Linked DNA regions of Homo sapiens: regions 2, 3, 4, 5, 6 and 7 are each linked to region 1. The links are contacts of gene promoters, found by promoter capture Hi-C in blood cells and fetal thymus (Javierre and others, 2016). All regions are on one chromosome and are shown on one strand. Each heading gives the region's core, a stretch centred on a gene start or on the middle of the fragment in contact. The rest is flanking DNA. Distances are from core to core; before and after follow the strand shown.

The links. Contacts are between HindIII fragments. The CHiCAGO score rates a contact against its expected background, and 5 or more counts as called.
Region 2: a fragment that was not itself captured here is called in contact with the fragment with the promoter of FAM200B in region 1 in 1 of 17 cell types (non-activated CD4 T cells); the score reaches 5.5 in non-activated CD4 T cells.
Region 3: a contact is called between a fragment that was not itself captured here and the fragment with the promoter of FAM200B in region 1, in 11 of 17 cell types (non-activated CD4 T cells, naive CD4 T cells, naive CD8 T cells and 8 more). The highest score is 16.5, in non-activated CD4 T cells.
Region 4: a contact is called between a fragment that was not itself captured here and the fragment with the promoter of FAM200B in region 1, in 9 of 17 cell types (naive CD8 T cells, total CD8 T cells, naive CD4 T cells and 6 more). The highest score is 9.2, in naive CD8 T cells.
Region 5: a fragment that was not itself captured here is called in contact with the fragment with the promoter of FAM200B in region 1 in 2 of 17 cell types (non-activated CD4 T cells and naive CD8 T cells); the score reaches 6.3 in non-activated CD4 T cells.
Region 6: a fragment that was not itself captured here is called in contact with the fragment with the promoter of FAM200B in region 1 in 1 of 17 cell types (neutrophils); the score reaches 5.4 in neutrophils.
Region 7: a contact is called between a fragment that was not itself captured here and the fragment with the promoter of FAM200B in region 1, in 2 of 17 cell types (neutrophils and monocytes). The highest score is 6.1, in neutrophils.

What each region holds. Positions count from the first base shown.
Region 1 is chr4:15,680,503-15,683,122 of GRCh38, reverse strand. It overlaps FAM200B (family with sequence similarity 200 member B), which reads right to left and starts at 1,296. Exons shown (of 2, transcript NM_001145191.2): 1 at 1,222-1,296. It also overlaps a transcript of FBXL5 not described here. RefSeq lists enhancers at 1,027-1,076, 1,087-1,326, 1,497-1,796. The HindIII fragment of the contact is 4,207 bases long and covers 182-2,620 here.
Region 2 is chr4:14,980,397-14,983,016 of GRCh38, reverse strand. All of the region lies in intron 7 of CPEB2-DT (CPEB2 divergent transcript), which reads left to right. Among named protein-coding and RNA genes, the nearest start is that of CPEB2-DT, 20 kb to the left of the region's middle. The HindIII fragment of the contact is 2,659 bases long and covers 1-2,620 here.
Region 3 is chr4:14,997,965-15,000,584 of GRCh38, reverse strand. All of the region lies in intron 3 of CPEB2-DT (CPEB2 divergent transcript), which reads left to right. Among named protein-coding and RNA genes, the nearest start is that of CPEB2-DT, 2.8 kb to the left of the region's middle. The HindIII fragment of the contact is 4,228 bases long and covers 1-2,620 here.
Region 4 is chr4:15,014,594-15,017,213 of GRCh38, reverse strand. It overlaps CPEB2 (cytoplasmic polyadenylation element binding protein 2), which reads right to left. Exons shown (of 12, transcript NM_001177382.2): 4 at 1-26. All of the region lies in intron 3 of C1QTNF7-AS1 (C1QTNF7 antisense RNA 1), which reads left to right. Among named protein-coding and RNA genes, the nearest start is that of CPEB2, 13 kb to the right of the region's middle. The HindIII fragment of the contact is 626 bases long and covers 999-1,624 here.
Region 5 is chr4:15,032,056-15,034,675 of GRCh38, reverse strand. It overlaps CPEB2 (cytoplasmic polyadenylation element binding protein 2), which reads right to left. Exons shown (of 12, transcript NM_001177382.2): 5 at 1,465-1,515. All of the region lies in intron 2 of C1QTNF7-AS1 (C1QTNF7 antisense RNA 1), which reads left to right. Among named protein-coding and RNA genes, the nearest start is that of CPEB2, 31 kb to the right of the region's middle. The HindIII fragment of the contact is 662 bases long and covers 993-1,654 here.
Region 6 is chr4:15,058,734-15,061,353 of GRCh38, reverse strand. It overlaps CPEB2 (cytoplasmic polyadenylation element binding protein 2), which reads right to left. Exons shown (of 12, transcript NM_001177382.2): 10 at 2,053-2,167. All of the region lies in intron 2 of C1QTNF7-AS1 (C1QTNF7 antisense RNA 1), which reads left to right. Among named protein-coding and RNA genes, the nearest start is that of CPEB2, 58 kb to the right of the region's middle. The HindIII fragment of the contact is 7,637 bases long and covers 1-2,620 here.
Region 7 is chr4:15,075,913-15,078,532 of GRCh38, reverse strand. All of the region lies in intron 2 of C1QTNF7-AS1 (C1QTNF7 antisense RNA 1), which reads left to right. Among named protein-coding and RNA genes, the nearest start is that of CPEB2, 75 kb to the right of the region's middle. The HindIII fragment of the contact is 2,605 bases long and covers 1-2,591 here.

The DNA of each region.
Region 1 (2,620 bases), core at 47-2,546:
TATTGTTACAATGCTTGATAGTCTAAAATTCCCCGTCACTAATCTTTTATATCCTAAGATATATCTCTAGTGCGCTGTATCATCTTCTGAAAATACAGCTCTAATCAGCTTCCTCATAACTGGAAAAGCATTTAATGGCGCCGAGCTTGTGTAAGCTCTTCAGGATAATATCCTTTAAGCTTAAGCCTCATCTTTCCAGGTTTCTCCTTCATCACATGATCTCCATACATTCTACATTTCAGTACTAAAAGTATGGAAATTCTTGAAATAGTTCATGCACTTTCATGTCTCTGCTTTTGGCTAGTATTCCTTTTGCCTGGAATACTCTTGTTGGGTCACATGAAGTCCTATTTATTCTTTTCTACTTAGTTCAAATGCTACAGCAGCCATGCATTCAACTAACATTTAGCTACCTACAGTGCCTAAAGTATGTCAGGCACTGGAGATACTAAACAATGAACAGTGACATATTAAAATAACAGAATATCTGTTCAGCTATTAAGATGAATAAGGTGGAGTTACACAACACTGACAAATCTCAAAAACATTATGTAAAACAAGCTAGCTGCAAAAAGATGTACACATTACAGATTGCATAAAGGTGGTTAGGAGAGTGGTTTCCTTAGGCAAAAGGAAAGAGAATGAGACGGGGTAGAGCTGACAAAGGACTTCAATCACTTATATAATCATTTATTTCTCCAATTCAGTGGTGAGTACACATGTGTTATAGTTTTGTTTCTACCTTTTTTCTGTCTAAAATCGTCTATTTAAAAAAAGCATCTTTAAGGCTGGATACCTTCCTGAAGGCACTGGAAATCTGTCATACTGCCACTAACTTAAAATTACCTTCCACCTCTTGCATTTCCCTTTGTTTCCTGTTTTGACATTGCGCACACATTAGTTAGTACACTAGGCCTTAAGAGTGGAAACTGCCAGGTACCAGCTTTAGCTAGATTAAAACATGACCCTCTTCCCAGGAGACTCCTGACCGGTTTTCTCGTCCTCCAGGGACCCAGCTAGGATTTCAATGAACTTTGGCCTGAACCCCTCGGCCGACCCTAGAATAATCGCCCTTCAGGCCCGGATTGCTTCTGCTCTCACCTTCCCTCAATTCATACGGGGGGCAAAACCAGACTGTATTTCCCGCAACGAACCCTGGAATGCTTCGCTTTAGCGGACTCCGGTCCACTCCCATCAGAGGATGCCCTTCTTTCGCCTCACCTCCAGCCCAGCCGCAGCGACCCGGCCGGGCCCAGCGCTGCAAGCCTCAGGTCTCTCCAGCAGAGCTGCGCCTCTGCTCTCCCCACACTTCCCTCCGCAACACCACTTCCGGCCTACCTCACAAATTCCCCATTCCAGCCGAAAAGAACTGGATCGGCCCTCTGCGCATGCGTGAGACCGGGGCGGTGTCCGGGGGTGCCGGGAGCGGGCGGTGCAGGCTCCACTTTTCCACTTCCCTACGCTCTGTCGGCAGTCTCGCGGGATTTCCGCCTCTCGCGGGAGTTATTTGAATGCCAGGGCGGTAACGACTCCCTAGGCGCCTGGGGCCCTCTGACAAGAAACCCTAGGAGACACCGCGGAGAACTCTGCCTCTGAGCTGGTGGGCGGGCCGGATGTAGCCGAGCGCGGACAGGGCTAGTCCGGACAGAGTCCCAGAGCCATGGGAGCGAAAAGAGACTGCTGCGGATTAAGGAGGCCTTTCGGTTGGCGCAGCAGCCACACCACAACCAGGCGAAGCAGGTAGTGGCGCTGAATCGCTCCTGCCGCGGGGTAAGCGCTCCCGGCCCGCGCCCGCCCCAGCCCCGACCTGGCGGGGCCAGGACGCTGGTTCATACACTCCAAGGTGATTTTCATAGTCTTTGTGGAAGAATTAGAGAATTTTGAACTTTGATATCATTGCACGTGTTTACTTATTTAGAGAATCGCATTGTGTTTAATAATCATAGTATTCCTGTGCGACTCTTTAGGTTAGCAGATCATTGATTTTTAACATAAAACTGCATTTCATTAAATAGATTTAAATATGTATGTATATTTCTGTCCTCTAATGATTGTAACAAAGCAGATTTCTTGATCATTAACAAGATAGGTTCGTGCAAATAAGTGCATCTTTGTCACAAACCAAATTTTTTTGTGGTTGAGATATATATTTATATATATATGTGAAACAAAAAACATATAAAGGAGAATATATATATATTCTTATATATATAATATATACTGCTTTATTTTTTTGGGTTGACATATATATGTCATATATAGTTTTTTTTTAAATTCTACCTTAAACAGGGAAACATGTTAGATACAGGAGCTTGAATTTCAACTCTGAAACTTAATGCGACTTTATCAGCATTTCTCTTTCTCAAGCTACTTACTTCTTGTAGGATTACACAGTCAAATTTTTAAAAATTTTTGATTCTCCAACTGGATTTTTTTTTTTAATTTTTGAGACGGAGTCTCACTCTCTCGCCCAGGCTGGAGTGCAGTGGCGCAGCCTCGGCTCACTGCAACCTCAGCCTCCTGGTTCAAGCGATTCCCCTGCCACAACCTCCCGAGTAGCTGGGATTACAGGCGACCGCCACCATGCCAGGCTAATTTTTGTATTTTTCAAAAATACAAA
Region 2 (2,620 bases), core at 64-2,563, 700 kb after region 1:
CTTAAAAGATGTGTAGGTTGGGGGTGAGATAGAGGGAAATGGGAAGAACATTCTAGAAAGAGGTATCGGCAAGAATAGCCAAGCCTTGGAGGAGACAAATAGTAGGAAATGTTATAGAAAGGGAAGAGGGTGTTGCCTAGATGGAGCAAAGGGGTGAGGTGAGGCCATTTGAACAAGGCTGGAGAAGTAACGGAAATCAAGCCAGTCGAGACAGGGATTCATCACTGAAAATCCACTTCCAGGACCTGCACCCAACACAGGACCTGTATATGGTTACATAATTTGAACATTCCCAGCAGTTTGTCATCTAGTATCTGAGATTCAGGGCTTCAGGGATGCTGGATACTTTTACTAACATATTCTATGGTGTTTTATATAGGTCCTGGCAAGATTAACATTATTATTTTCTATGATGACAAATAACTAATACGAAATGAGGATCCGTTTGATCTTTCATATAAGGTCTAGAGAATGTTTCTTCACAGTTACCCCAGACCTTTGGTATAGCATCTGTTTTTCAGTTCTAATGCAAAAGTATGTTACTGAGATTGAATATTAACTACTGGTAATATTCATTCCAAATACCTATTTTCATCAAATTTCTTTTTTTTATCTTTTAAGTTCAGGAGTACACGTGCATGTTTGTTACATAGGTTAACTCGTGTCATGGGGATTTGTTGTACAGATTATTTCAGAGGTATGGAGCCTAGTACCTATTAGTTATTTTTCCTGATCTTTTCCCTCCTCCCACCCTCCACTCTCCAGTAGATACAGGGGTCTGTTGTTCCCCTCTATGTGTCCATGTGTTCTCATCATTTAGCTCCCACCTGTAAGTGAGGATATGTGGCATTTGGTTTTCTCTGACTGCGTTAGTTTGCTAAAGATAATGGCCTCTAGCTCCATCCATGTTCCTGCAAAGGACATGATCTCATTTTTTATGGCTGCATAGTATTTCATGGTGTATATGTACCACATGTTCTTTAGTCTACCATTGATGGGCAGTTAGGTTGATTCCATGTCTTTGTTGTTGTGAATAGTGCTGCAGTGAACATACACGTGCATGTGCCTTTATGATAGAACGACTTACATTCTTTTGGGTATATACCCAGTAATGGGATTTCTGGGTCTAATGGTAGTTCTGTTTTTAGCTCTTTGAGGAATTGCCATACTGCTTTCCACAATGGTTGAACCTGATTTACATTCCCAGCAACAGTTCCATCAAATTTCCCAAAACATAAATATGTAATACTTGTGATATGCCAGACAATGTTATATGCATTTTACTAACAATGCAATGAGAGATAGGCATCTTCATTATCCCTAGCTGATAAATAAGGAAACAGTAGTCGAGTAACTTGCCCAAAGTTATAAGCTAGTGAATGTGGGAGGTGGTAATTGTGCACAGGCAACCTACTCCAGAGATCTTAGGCCTGATTATCATTTATCTACTCTTCCAATTTATATATTTTTTTCAAACTAAATCACTGGACAGATTTTTAATTTCTTTTCACCACTTGTTTAATAGACATGACACTATATTATGTTAATATAATTCACATATACAAACATTACATGCCCATATGTGATACATGATAGTTATTATAGATCAGTAGTTCTCAACCCTGGATATACATTGAAATCATAAAGTGAGGGAGATTTTTGTTTGTTTGTTTTTGTTTTTGTTTTCGTTTTGTTTTGTGACAAGTTCTCATTCTGTTGCCCAGGCTGGAGTGCAGTGGCCCGAACAAGGCTCATTGCAGCCTCGATCTCCTGGGCTCAAGCAATCCTCCTACTTCAGTCTCCCAAGTAGCTGGGACTTTAGGTGCACTCCACCATGCCTGGCTAATTTTTAACATTTTTTGTACAGTCAAGGCCTCATCATGTTGCCCAGGCTGGTCTCGACTTTTGGGCTCCAGCAGTCCTCCTGCCTTGGCCTCCCAAAACGCTGGGATTACAGGTGTGAGCCACTGAACCTGGCCCATGTGATGAATTTTTAAAAAAATTGTTATTGGCTTAAGCCCCACCTCCAGAGATTCAGATGTAATTGCTTTAGGTGAAGCCTGGACATCAGTATTCAAGAAACTCCCCAGGTGATTCTAATATCCATCTGGGGTTGAGAACCACTGTACAGACCAATCATTTATGGTTTACTTCAGGCACTGTACTATATATTTTATACACATTATTGTCATTTCACATGACAACATGATTAGATAGGGTATAATTATTGGTGTTTTACAGATGTGGGAATTGAGGAACCAAGGGGTTATATATAATTTGCCCAAGTTCACACACCTAGTAAATTGCAGAGACAATGTATGAGGTAAAACCACATTTTCTTAGTTGTAACTACCATGCATTAAAATTAATCTGTGTCATAAATTAATTTATCAGCATTCTGGAATATATTTATTTGTATATACATGCTAAAACTCTTAAAATCTCAATAATTTAACCAATTTTCCATTCGGTCTGTTAAAAATACCTTTGAAACTAAATTATATATCTATTTCTATTATATACAATATATATTTTATATTATGTAATATATTGTTATATATGCCATGTATTTCTAATATTAACCTTTTCATTTCATCTTTTTTACTTCTGCATATCAATA
Region 3 (2,620 bases), core at 53-2,552, 680 kb after region 1:
AATGGTTATTTTCAGAGTATATATTGACATATTAAATATTCATTTTTTAAAAGGTATTGTGCAGGAAAAAAAACTACTTCTGCAACTAAGGAATGTAAAGTCTTAACAACGGATGATTTTTTTCCAAGTACAGTTGTATTTGATTGGAATCATTTGCAGATCCAACAACAAATCTTGAAATAGGGGGAAAATACAGGTATAAACCTTAGCTCAATTATCCACTAACACCGCAGTTAGTAAAGAGGAGAGAGCACATACTTTTAAAAGCTAACTGGTGCCTTTCTGGGCTAGAGTTTTGAACAAAAACAAGATTTCTTAGTGCTCTGGTACTAGTTTTGTCTTAGAGGATTTAGAGCTCTCTGAAACGGGGAAAAGCCATCAAGTTTGTTATTACATAATAATGTCAAACTTCATATTAAATACACCAAATTCCAAATCCTGCCAGGGCCTCTACTCACTACTTTTGTGAGGGCCCCATTTTTTTAGAGCAGAAAGTTACTTTCTGACATCTTGTAAGCTGGTGATCTTGCCCTTATTGAAAATATTCAAATGAAAAGGTTTCCTAGGGTGGAGAGTGGAGTGGGGTAGGGAGAAGGAGCAGCAAATACTGAGGAGGGACTATGGTCCTCTAGCAGTTTCCATGCCAAGATCTTATGAGTCCATTCAATGATTTTTTTGGTTTTTTACATGAAAATATTTTGACTCATGATCATTAACTAGGACCTTGACTTTGTATTTGACAGTCCCTTATTCATTTACTCCCACTGTCCTGGGCAAGTATTTTTAAAAGTATTTTTGCTACAACCCAATATATGTGCAAGTACACACTCATGCAACTGAAATAAAGCTGCTATTAAGCAATTCTTTTAATAATGCAACAAACTCCTTTTTATAATTCTATTTTCATTTTAAAATCACGTTTGATCTCAAATTACAAAGTTGGTTTTAACACCCTCTATCAGATTATGAACTGAAAAACCACTGTCCTAGACCATTTCAAACATTCTGCTCAATCTGAAAACCTCTTGTCACATCTCTCCTACATGCATCTGCTAGCATGTAGCACTCTCAGCTGCTGAGCTACATGCTTATTTCACTGAGAAAAAAGAAGCAACCACAGGAAAACTTCCACAGTCTCCCTGCATCTGTCCCTGCACACCTTGCCTTCCCTCTCGATACAATGGATGGCCCATCTGCCCATACTCCTGTCTAAGGCCAGCCTCTCCACTGGCGGAGCAGATCCTACCTCTAACCTACTCAAGACATGGGCTCCAACAGTTTTCTCTCTCTGTCCTTCATCATGACCTCTTTCCTCTCCAGGAAACACTTCCATGTGCACAAAAACTTGCTTTACTAGTTCTCACCTTTGAAAAGTAAAGCCAAAACCTTTTGACCTTATATTCTCCCTCCTTTAGCTACTGCCTTCTTTTTCTGCTTTTACATTGCCTGAACGACTTGCCCATTTGACTGAGTGTCTCATAGATACCTCAAATTAAACACGTCAAAAATTAAACTCCCTGCCTCACTAGGCCCAATCCCTGTGGCGCTCCATTGTTCTGGTTGCTCAGGCCAAAAACCCTGGAGTCATTCTTCACTTCAATCCACTTCTGTCCTTCTTGCATCATATCCAAGCCATCAGAACATGTTGCTTGTCCTACCTTTAAATTACTGGCATAACCTAGAGATACCGTGGGTTTTGTTCCAGATTACCACAATAAAGCAAATATCCCAATAAAGCAAGTCACACCAATTTTTTGGTTTCCCAGTGCATGTAAAAGTTATGTTTACAGTATATTATACTCTAAACATAAGTTCTCAATTATAGTCTAAACATAACTTGTAATTACATTTAAATAAGTGCACAGTAGCATTATTCTGAAAAATATACACACATTAATTTAAAAATACTGCTAAAAAGTGCTAATGATCATCTGAGCCTTCAGTAAGTCATAATCTTTTTGTCAGTGGAGAGTCTTGTCTCGACATTCATGGCTGCTGACTGATCAGCATGGTGGTGGCTGAAGGCGGAGGTGGTTGTGGCAATTTCTTAAGACAAAGATAGAGTTTGTCACATAAATTGAATCTCCCTTTCATGAAAGATTTCTCTGTACCATGCAATGCTGTTTGATAGCATTTTGTCCACAGAACTTCTTTCAAAATTAGTCAGTCCTCTCAAAACCTGCTAATGCTTTATCATCTAAATTTATGTAATATTCTAAATCTTTTTTGTCATTTCAGCAGTGTTCATAGCATCTTCATGAGGAGTAGATTCCGTCTCAAGAAACCACTTTCTTTGCTTATCCATGAGCAGCAACTCCTTCTCCATTCAAGTTTTATTGTAATATTGCAGCAATTCAGTCACATCCTCAGGCTCCACTTCTAATTCTAGTTCTCTTGCTATTTTTACTACATCTGCAGTAACTTCCTTCACTGAAGTCTTGAACCCCTCGAAGTCATCCAAGAGGGTTGGAATCAGCTTCTTCCAAACTCCAGTTAATGTTGACACTTTGACCTCCCATGAGTCACACATATTCTGAATGGCAGCTAGAATGGTGAATCCCTTCCAGAAGGTTTTCAATTTGCTTTGCCCTTATCCATCAGAGAAATCACTATGGCAGCT
Region 4 (2,620 bases), core at 62-2,561, 670 kb after region 1:
AAACTGTCATACATTCTACTTCGATCCTGGAAGAGAAGAGGAAAAAAGACATTATAATCTATGCAGTTTTTTCAAAAAGCGATTATAAAACACTATCTAAATTCTCTTACATAAAATAGGACTTCTGATTATTACTAATTAATCTGTATCCCACAAAAATACCAATAACTAAAGATCTCATGAACTACAATGTTCCTTGCATTGGAGGACATTATTTTCAGTATATTTATCTCTTAAAGCTTTTATCAAAAGTAATCTAATTTTACTGGCAATACTAATGCAAAACAGTAAAATAATTTCTATAGTTACTTTTCTCTATAAAGTTTCCTGAAATCTTATACACACAGAAAGCATTTTTTGGTTAATTTCAAAACTTTTCTCACATATTTAGGAAGACAGATAGTGGCACATAGAAAATAAATATTTGGGAGGAAATATTTTAGTTCCATAATTGCACCATACTTTAAACATCTATCAAACATTTTGTTATCTGACATAGTAGTCTGAATTTAATAATGAGTGCATAAACATCTTATACGGTAAAAATCAAAAGCATAAGATACTAATAACCAGAACAGGGACTAATGCCTAGAATATTCAGATTCATATATTACTCTCTAAAGTGCTTCCATATTTGTCTCTGCATTTTTAAGCCGGCCTCCCCCAACTCCCCTGCAAAATAGGCAGGTGGAGGAGAGAAGAGTAAAAGCACAGTAATCTCATTAAGTCTGCTACTTCACCAAGTCTCCAAAGTCTTGTTATCAGAATCTTCTTTGCTGAATGTTCAATCCCTTCACTTGCTTATTTGAAAGAATCTGACTCTTTAATGTCCATAAATTTCTACTGTATTCTGTTCAATACATACTCAGTGTACCTGAAAAAAGGTATGTGGTGAACTACTAGAGGAAGCTCTGGCCCATGCCCTCCAAATAATCTAGGAGTCTTCCCAAAATACTCACCCACCCAGTTACATATGTGTATACACGCATGTGTAAGCTTATGTATACGTGGGGGATACAGGATAGTCCATTCTAAACTCTCAAAAAATGACTGTCACAGAAAATGGAAAGGAAGAATCTGAAAATTAAGTGGAAATAAAAGCCCCCATAGAAATCAAAATAAGGCACTTATTAACCTGGGTCCATTAGCTTCAAGAGAGACCAGAAGTCTCTGAGATTATATGTAATATACTGTTCATAGGTGTACAGTAGTCCCCCCTTTCTGCATTTTGCCTTCCACGATTTCAGTTATCTGTAGGACAATACAATAAGATATTCTGAGAGACAGAGATGCCACATTTACATAATTTTTATTACATTGTTATAATTGTCCTACTTTACTATTATTGTTGTTAATCACTTACTGTGCCTAATTTATGAATTAAACCTTATCATATGTCTTCATTGGAAAAAAACAGCATATGAAGGCACTATTTGCAGTTTCAGCCATCCACTGATTGTCTTGGAACGTATCACTCATGGATAAGGGGGGACTAGTGTGTACATAATTTCTTTTTTTCCCGAAGAAAAGGTTTATAGCTTTCATCAGTTTTCCACAGGAGTCCACAATCCAGAGAAGATTCAGAATCAGTTCTTTAGAAAGCTGAAGAAAAACCTAAAAAGCTTTTCTAAGAATATGTTCATTTATTTACTTTACTTTGATGTTTAAATTAGGGTTGTAGCCTTTTTAAAGCTAGGGGTTCAGAATCAGTACTGTAGACTAAGTTGCTGTCAGGGATTTAAAAAGGTAAAAAGTAACACTGAATGACGGAAGGAATGCTAGACTGGAGGCTCTTATTCCAGCTTTATCACCAATTAACTCTATCAGTACTCTTTACTGATTTTTACTGAAAGGCCCCTGAGGTAAAACACATGCATCAATAACAGCTGCTCTCTAGAACAGTGACCTTGATTAGTGATGGAGGCACAAAGAATCAATGAGCTGTAACAGTGGTTCCTAAACTTGAACATGCTTCAGAATCATCTGGAAGGCTGGTTAAACACACAGACTGCTGAAACACATCAAATTCAGTAGGTCTGGAGTGGAACCTGAGAGTATGTATTTCTAACAAGTTCCCAGGTGATACTGATTCTGCTGGTCTGGATATCACACTTTATAAGAAGCAATTAGTTTCTTCGTCTGAAGTCACTAAATCTCTCTAGGCTCTGGTTCTAACTCCTAGAAAATAATCATGTCAGACTAGATGATGCCTATAGTCTCTTTAAAAATTCTAGAAAAGAAAAAGACTCAAAATACTCTAAAATAAATGAAATATTAATAAAACTGAAACAGAGAATAGGATGGCCCATATGGGCAAAAATGACATATTAATTTTAGGAATCTATCCAGATATTTCCATCTTCCCTGTGCTTCCACTATACTGTGTTCATAACTAATTTGTTGATTTTCCTGTCTGTCCCACTAAACTTCTAAGTTGATTAAGAATAGGGACTATCTAATTACAGAATATAGTTAGTTCTCATGTCTGTTGAATGAATACTTCTTTATCTCTACCATAAAAACTCAATAAAAAATGTAAAAAAAAAGTCGAGTTCTGTAAGGAGAAAGACTGTACTTTTTAAATAGTAATGGTAAAGGACTATAAAACTTTCTCAGAATC
Region 5 (2,620 bases), core at 74-2,573, 650 kb after region 1:
TCAAATTGTTTCTTTTCCTGATGTAAACACATTTTCATGTCCTAGTTTCATTATCTTTTTCTCCCCGCTAGTACCTTGCCAGAAAAAGTTCAGAATTTCCAGGCTGGCTTCCTGTACTGAGTATGCATTGTGGCCCCAAATGACTACTAAGACTACTCACATAATACACAAAGCCGACTTGTCCACAAGATGCAACTCTTGCCTGAAATAAAATACTCTTCTTTCTGCCATGTGATGAAACACTTTTCAACCTAACATCTAGATTATTTATAAGGGCTTTTCCCAACTGACAAAATCATCCATTAGTTTAATAATGTTTAGTATAACTAATAATGTAAGTTGCAAATACACTGTGGCTACTAAGCTCTTTGCTTCCACATGACTCAGTATGGCCCCAGGCAATTCTGACCACAACCATCCTGTAGGATTCTCACTAATTAGATAACCGAGTGCTTAGACTAGACTGGCATGCGCTAGACAACTAAACAGTGAAATACTGAATGATTAAATCAATCACCTCATCTAATGCTCTGCCTTCTTCAATTTTTCTCATTGAGAATCCTACTTACCCTGACCATCTCCTACGTGGCCTGGACTTTATTTCCATCCTTCTGTCTTAATATTAGTTCACATAGTCTAGCTTCACATGTACCTTATTTTCAGTCTTTGTTCCTCAACTTCATTGCCATCTTATTTCAGCAAACCTTCAGTTGAAATACAAGAGCCAAGCCATTCTAATGATATTTTTTTAAAGTAAATATTAATACTATTTCTATTCTTTCCCCTTCCTATTTCCCTCTCCACACCCACCCTCTGACTTAAAAATACTCCTGTGAAGGATATTTTAATCTTCCATCTCTACTCCCACAATCACGGAAGTGCTAAGTACTGAGACTCTGAATATGTTAATGTTTGTCTAACAGAAAGAAAACTAACTTTAATGAAATTTATTTATTATTTTCCTTACTTTGGTGAACTTCTCTATGTAAGCTTTCTAGTTTGAGTAAGTTTAGTGTGATCACAATATTTATAGAGTTACCAGTATATTCCTTATTTAACCACAAACACAATGCTATACTAAGTAACAAGTTCTATGCCTTTGCAAACATTTCATTTAAATCTCACAATAAACCTTGAGACTATATTCTCATTACAGAGATGGGGAAACTAAGGTAATAGTAATCTGTCCAAGGTCATACCTGAAACTGGAAAGGCAATATTCAAACCAGGACTGCCTCCAAGTCCGTGATCACTGAATTAAAGTCATACTGTTACAAATGGCTGCTTTACCAGCCCGAACACACTCAGATTCCTAATTCTGCCTTTTGCATAGGAATAGTTGTAACTTTATTTTTATGCTCATAGAATGATTAAATTGTGTGTATGGACAGGTTCAGAGAAACATGTATTAAATCATCTTTACATAAATCAACTGGAAACATAAAATGTTTTTATAAAACTTACCATTTAACATCAACAGATTGTCAGTTCCTGGATGTGGATAGCTCAATCGACCTTTAAAAAGACAGGAAAGGTGAGTTTGAAGATTATGGAGTTATTTGAAAAGCAAAAACAAAAAAACAAAAAACAACAACAAAGGCAGCATAAAGAGAAAATTATTGAGCACAGTATATTTCTTAAGAACTAAAAAGCTTATGTTCAACTAAAAGTATATTAACTAAAATTATCTTTGGAAGTTGAAAGCAAAACAAAAAGTTAACCTTAGTTCCTAGATCATAAGAATACAATGTGATTTGGGAGCAATGCCAATAGAATAAAGCTTATTTATTTTTGGAATGTAAAAACAATATATCTATCATATCCTAGTCTTGCAAATTTAATATGAAATGTGAATTTTTAAATTTTTTCAAAGTTGTTTGTAATTTTATCTATAGATCTGTCAAAAATAAAACTTGAGAGAATTTCATATTCCTAAATCAAAAACAATTAAAATGTTAAAATAAAAAATAAGCAGAAAAATTCATCTCAACTTGCCAATGTGGCTTTATAAAGTCATATTTAAATAAATTAGTTTAATGAAAACATCTTATATTACAAATATTATTGAAAATTTAACTTCTTCAAAGTTTATAAATGATTAAAAATATAAAAAAAATTAAAGCTGATGAGTATAGTGGCATAGTATTTCCTCTGAGTCATTCTTCATTCGAAAGTTTTTTATTTACTAAATGCAGAAGGGACAACAGTATTACAAACTGCTGTGGAGAAGAAAAAAGGTATGCATGAAACATTCTGTGGTTTATCCAGCATTTTTACATCATAACACTTATTTGATAAATGCCAATAGCAAGGATGACCATTATTTTTAGTCTATATTATAAAATACAGGATTTTTCTCAAATTCCTAAATCTCTAATAGACTATTAGAATAGTACATTAAAACCCATTTAGAGGCTGGGCATGGTGGCTCATGCTTGTAGTCCCACCTAGCTGGGAGGTAGAAAAAGGAAGATCACTTGAGCCCAGGAGTTTGAGCATGTAGTGAGCTATGACTGTGCCAATGCACTCCGGCCTGAGCAACAGGGCAAGACCCTGTCTCTCAACAAATGAAAAAAAATTTTTTTAACTGATTTGAAAAATGTCTAAAAATTAAATGTCT
Region 6 (2,620 bases), core at 70-2,569, 620 kb after region 1:
TCTGAGTCTTCCTTGATAGTTCATCCTAAACGCCTTAACTTTTCAATGTCAGAGTACCCTAACTTTCAATCCTTGCAACACTATCTACACTCCTGGCTTTGGTACCTTCATCCTGTATCATAGCTTTAAACACCATCTATATGTTTTTAAGCTCCTACATTTTTATCTCTAGTGTGGACCTCTCCCATGGATGCCAGACTTGTACATGCAACTGTCTACTGGACAACTCGATATTTAACAGGCACTGGCCACACTCGGTATATTAAAAATGGAACTCATAATCTTCCCTTATCCCATTAAACCTGCTCCAATGAGTTTCTGCTGACCCAGTTAGAAAGCAACAGAAAAGATGAAGTTGTCAAGATCTTTGGCTTCATTCTTTCTGTATTCTTCCCTTGCTCCATACTGCACATGCAATCCTGTAAACTTGATTTTAAAACATATCTAGAGTCCAATTGCCTCACCTCCATCACTAACATCCTGATTCATGCTAACATCATTTTTCATCTGGTTCATGGCAATAACCTTATCTCTCTTTGCTTTTGGCCCTTGCCTTCCCAGCTTTTTAAAACAGTATAAAGAGTGATTCTCTTAAAAAATACACCAGATACCACCATAAAAATACATAAAAAAATATACCATATACCATGGTTTAATTGAAATTTCTATTTGGGAGCTCTGAATGGTGCCATAAACTTGTGTTCAAAACCAAGACCACAATCTTCCCTCCCTATCTGCTCCTTCTCCAGTTTTCCTTCCATCTCAGTAAAAGGCATCACTATCCACCCAGTGGCTTATGACTGAAAGATGAGATTCAGTCTTTGTGTCTACCTCATAAACATCTGTCACCTCTGTTCAGTTGGCTTTCTCCACTGCTACCACTAATCCAAGCCACCATTGTCTATCTCCTGGATTGTAATAATAGGATGTTAAACTGGTCTGCCCGCATTTACTCTCACCCTGGCCCCCCTCTCTCTGAATCATTAGCTAAAGTGAACTTTGAAAACTGCAAAGATAATGAAGTCTCTCTTTTGCTTAAAAACTCTTCAATGGTTTACCCTTGCTCTGAGAATAAATACCGAGTTAGTCTATTAGACTTGTATGATTTGACCCCTTCCCTCACTCCTTGTATCCCAAGTCAGGCACTTTGGGCTTCTTTCAGTTCCTTCAAAGCACCCTGTTTCCCTCCACTCAAGACCTTTAAATAAGCTGTTCCCTTTCTGTGAAACACATTCCTCAGAACCCTGCTACCACCCTGATCCTACTCCTTTTGCCCAGTCTTTATATGTCAGCTCAACTACAAATACCTTCAAGATATCAGACTTCAAATACCTTCAAGATATCAGATATCATATTTCCTTGCTACATGCTCTTCTGTTCCCTATAGTACTTCTTTGTAGAAGTCATCATATTCTATAAGTATTTCCATGTATGAATAGTTCTTTAACATATATCTCTATGACTGGGGAGACGATGTTCTCAGTGATGGAAATCACTAACACTCTACACATGGTGCACAGTACCATCTAACAAGTGCAAAGTGGGCATATACATCTACAATTATATTCCTCTGTGACATATTTTGGTAGGTTTTTGGTTCCTAGTTATTGATAAACAGAAGTTTATCATCATTCACTTATCTAAAGTGCTACTTTAATGATTAAAATATAGATAAAAGAGAAAAAAATCCCATATTTCTTTTTCAGATATCAGAATCGATCTACACAAAATAAACAGACCCCAAATTCTCTTATCTCAGAGAGGTACACTTAGGAAATCGGAAGTATTTAGGTGGATTCTTATAGATTTGCTTTGAGTTAGCTACTGCACTAATATTGATAGATAAGTACCCAATTCTCCAGTTGGAGAGTTTCAAGAGGGGGCCTCAGAATTTGTTTCAAAATTCTGTAGTTAGCAGCAATTGGTGCATGCAGAATCTGCTCCTGCTCTGTCCAATAGTGTCATGTACACAATAGCTTCCAAACGTTTATTAAATTGACTAGGACATATTTAAATGATTTTTTTAAACAAAATTGTTAACATTCTACTTACCAGCCCTTAATGGCCTAGGAACACCTCCAACAAAAATTGTTTTTCGGGGATCCAAAGGCTGAGAACCATCCATTACAAAATCACTATCACTTAAATTCCAAGGACGTATTTGAACCTATGAAGAAAATTACATTGGGTCTTACTCCCTTGATGTCTTATGAGAATTTTCTGTTTGTTTGTTTTTGCCAGTTAATAGTGATTCTTTTATTGCTTAAAAATTTGTATAGTGGGATCTGGAAACAAATTATTTTTATAACTTTTGTTGATCTAGATACTATAAATCCGCAGTCTCTGACCTTTTTGGCACCAGGGACCAATTTTGAGGAAGACAGTTTTTCTAAGGATGGAGGTGGTGGAGGATGGTTTCGAGATCAAAGTGTTCCACCTCAGATCATCAGGCATTAGATTCTCATAAAGAACATGCAACCTAGATCACTCGCACGTGCAGTTCACAATAGGGTTCGCATTCCTATGAGAATAGAGTGCCATCTCTGATCTGACAGGAGGCAGAGCTCAGGCAGTAATGCTGGCTTGCCTGCCACTCATCTCCTGCTGTGTGGCCTGGTTC
Region 7 (2,620 bases), core at 40-2,539, 600 kb after region 1:
AGTTTTTGGAAGAGTTTAAGAAGGATTGGCATTAATTTTTTAATAATTGAATAATATTTTTTATTATCATGTCTTCTCATTCCTAGGAATTTAAGTGATAAAAATCAGAACAGAATCTGAAATAGTCACACTACAAAATCGGTTAGATTTCTCTTGGGATACCACCACATGTGCTCATAAGTGGGATCTAAATGAGGAGAAAATAGACACTTAGAGGGGAACAACATACACTGGTGCCCTTTGGAGGGTGGAGGATGGGAGGAGGAAAAGGATCAGGAAAAATAACAAATGGGGTACTAGGCTTAATATGTGGGTGATGAAATCATCTCTACAACAAACCACAATGACGCAAGTTTACGTTATGTAACAAACCTTGTTTGTACAAGGTTTGTATCCCTGAACTTAAAAGTTACAAAAAAAGGGTCAAAAATTATAAAAAGAATTGCATAATCCTAAGTCATCTATTTATTTAAAAGTGTTTGGTGTAACTCACCAGTGAAGCCATCTTATTCAATTTCCTTACTAATTATAGATCTGTTCAGGTTTTTAATTTCTTCATAATCCAATCTTAGTAGGTTGTATGTTTCTAGTAATTTATCTGTTTATTCTAGGTTATACAATTCGTTCGTGTATAAGTGTTCATAGTAGCCTCTTTTGATCCTATTTCCATGGCATCAGGTAAAATGTTTCCTCTTTCATTTCTGATTTTTTTAATTTAAGTCTTCTCTCTCTCTCTTTTTTTTTTTTTCAATTCTAGCTATGGGTTTGTCAATTTTGTTGATCTTTTTCAAAATCCTACTCTTAGTTTTATTTTTTTTAATTGGTTTTCTGTTTTCTATTGTGTTCATTTCTGCTTTAATCTTTCTTTCTTTCTTTTTTCTAACTTTGGGCTTAGATTGTTCTTTTTCTACTTTCTTGAGGTACAAAGCTATGCTGTTTATTTGAGTTCTTTCTTATTTCAATGTAGGTGCTTATTGCTGCATAATTTCCTTTTCCTGATTTTGTTACAGTCCAAAGGACTTGGTATGTTGTGTTTCCATTTCCAGTTTTCTCAAGATATTCTCAAATTTCCCTTCTGATTTTTTATTTGATTCACTGGCTGTTCAGGAGTGTCTTGTTTAATTTACATATTTGTGAATTTTCCAGTTTTCTTTAGTTATTGATTTCTAGTTTCATTTCATTGTGGTCAGAAAAAAATACTTAGTATGAGATCAGTCTTCTTAAATTTGTTAAGATTTGCTGTGTGACCTAACATGTAATTAATTCAGCACTTGAAAAAAATGTGTATTCTTCTGCTGTTTGGTGGAATATTCCATATATGTCTCTTGGATTCATTTGGTCTACAGTATTGTTTATGTCCTCTGTTTCTTCATTGATTTTCCATATGGAACTTCTATTCATTGTTAAATGTTAGGTATTAAAGTATCCTACTATTGCTGTTTTTCCCTTAGTTCTGTCAATGTTTGCTTCATATATTTAGATACTTCTAATGTTGGATGAATACATATTTAAAATTGTTACATTTTCCTTAATAATTATTTTATCATTATATAATGACCTTTTGTGACAGCTTTGTCTCAAAGTCTATTTTGTCTAGCATAAGCATAGGCATGCTACTCTCTTTTGGTTACAATTTGCATGGAATGTTTTTCCATCTCTTCACTTTCAGTTTGTATATGTTCTTAAATCTAAAGTCAGTCTCCTGTAAACAGCATATAATAAGTTCCTATATTTTATTAATTTTATTTTTATCCATGCAGCCATTTATAATTGGAGAATTTAATTCATTTACCTTTAAAGTGATTGTTCATAGGGAAGAACTTACTATTGCCATTTTCTAGTTTTCTGTCTTTTGGTTCTTGTGTTCTTTTCCTTTCTTGCTGTTTTCCTTTGTTGATTTTTTTTTTGTATTGATATGCTTTGATTCTTTTTTACTTACTTTTTTAAATTTACTTTTTACTTTCTTTTGTGCATATTTTATAGGTGTTTTCTTTGTGGTTACATGGGGCTTACAGAAAACATCTTATGGTTATAATAGTCTATTTCAGGCTAGTATCAACTCCATACAGAAACTCTACACTGTTACTTTTCTTCTCCCCACACTTTGTTCTTGATATTACAATTTATATCTTTTAAAATTGTTTATTCATTAACATATTTTATAGTTATAGTTATTTTTACTGTTTTTGCCTTTTTAACCTCTAAACAAACTAAAACTTATTTACCTATCATATTACATGTCATGGTATTTTCAATCTGTATATATATTTACCTTTACCATGAAGTTATATAGTTTCATATGCTTTTTAATAGATGTTAAGCATTCTTCCTCTTCAACTTGAAGAATTCCCTTTAACATTTTCTGTAAGGCACATCTATTGGTGAAGAATTCCTTCAGATTTTGTTTGTCTGGGAAAGTCTTTATCATGCCTTCATTTCTGAAGAACAGGTTTTGCTGGTTATAGTATTCTTGGATGACAGTTTCATTCTCAGCACTTTTAATATATCATCTCACTGCCTTCTAGGCTGTAAGATTTCTGCTAAGAAATCTGCCAATACTGTTATGTATATTTCCTTAGATATAACAAGCTTTCTCTTGCTATTTTCAAAATTCTCCTTG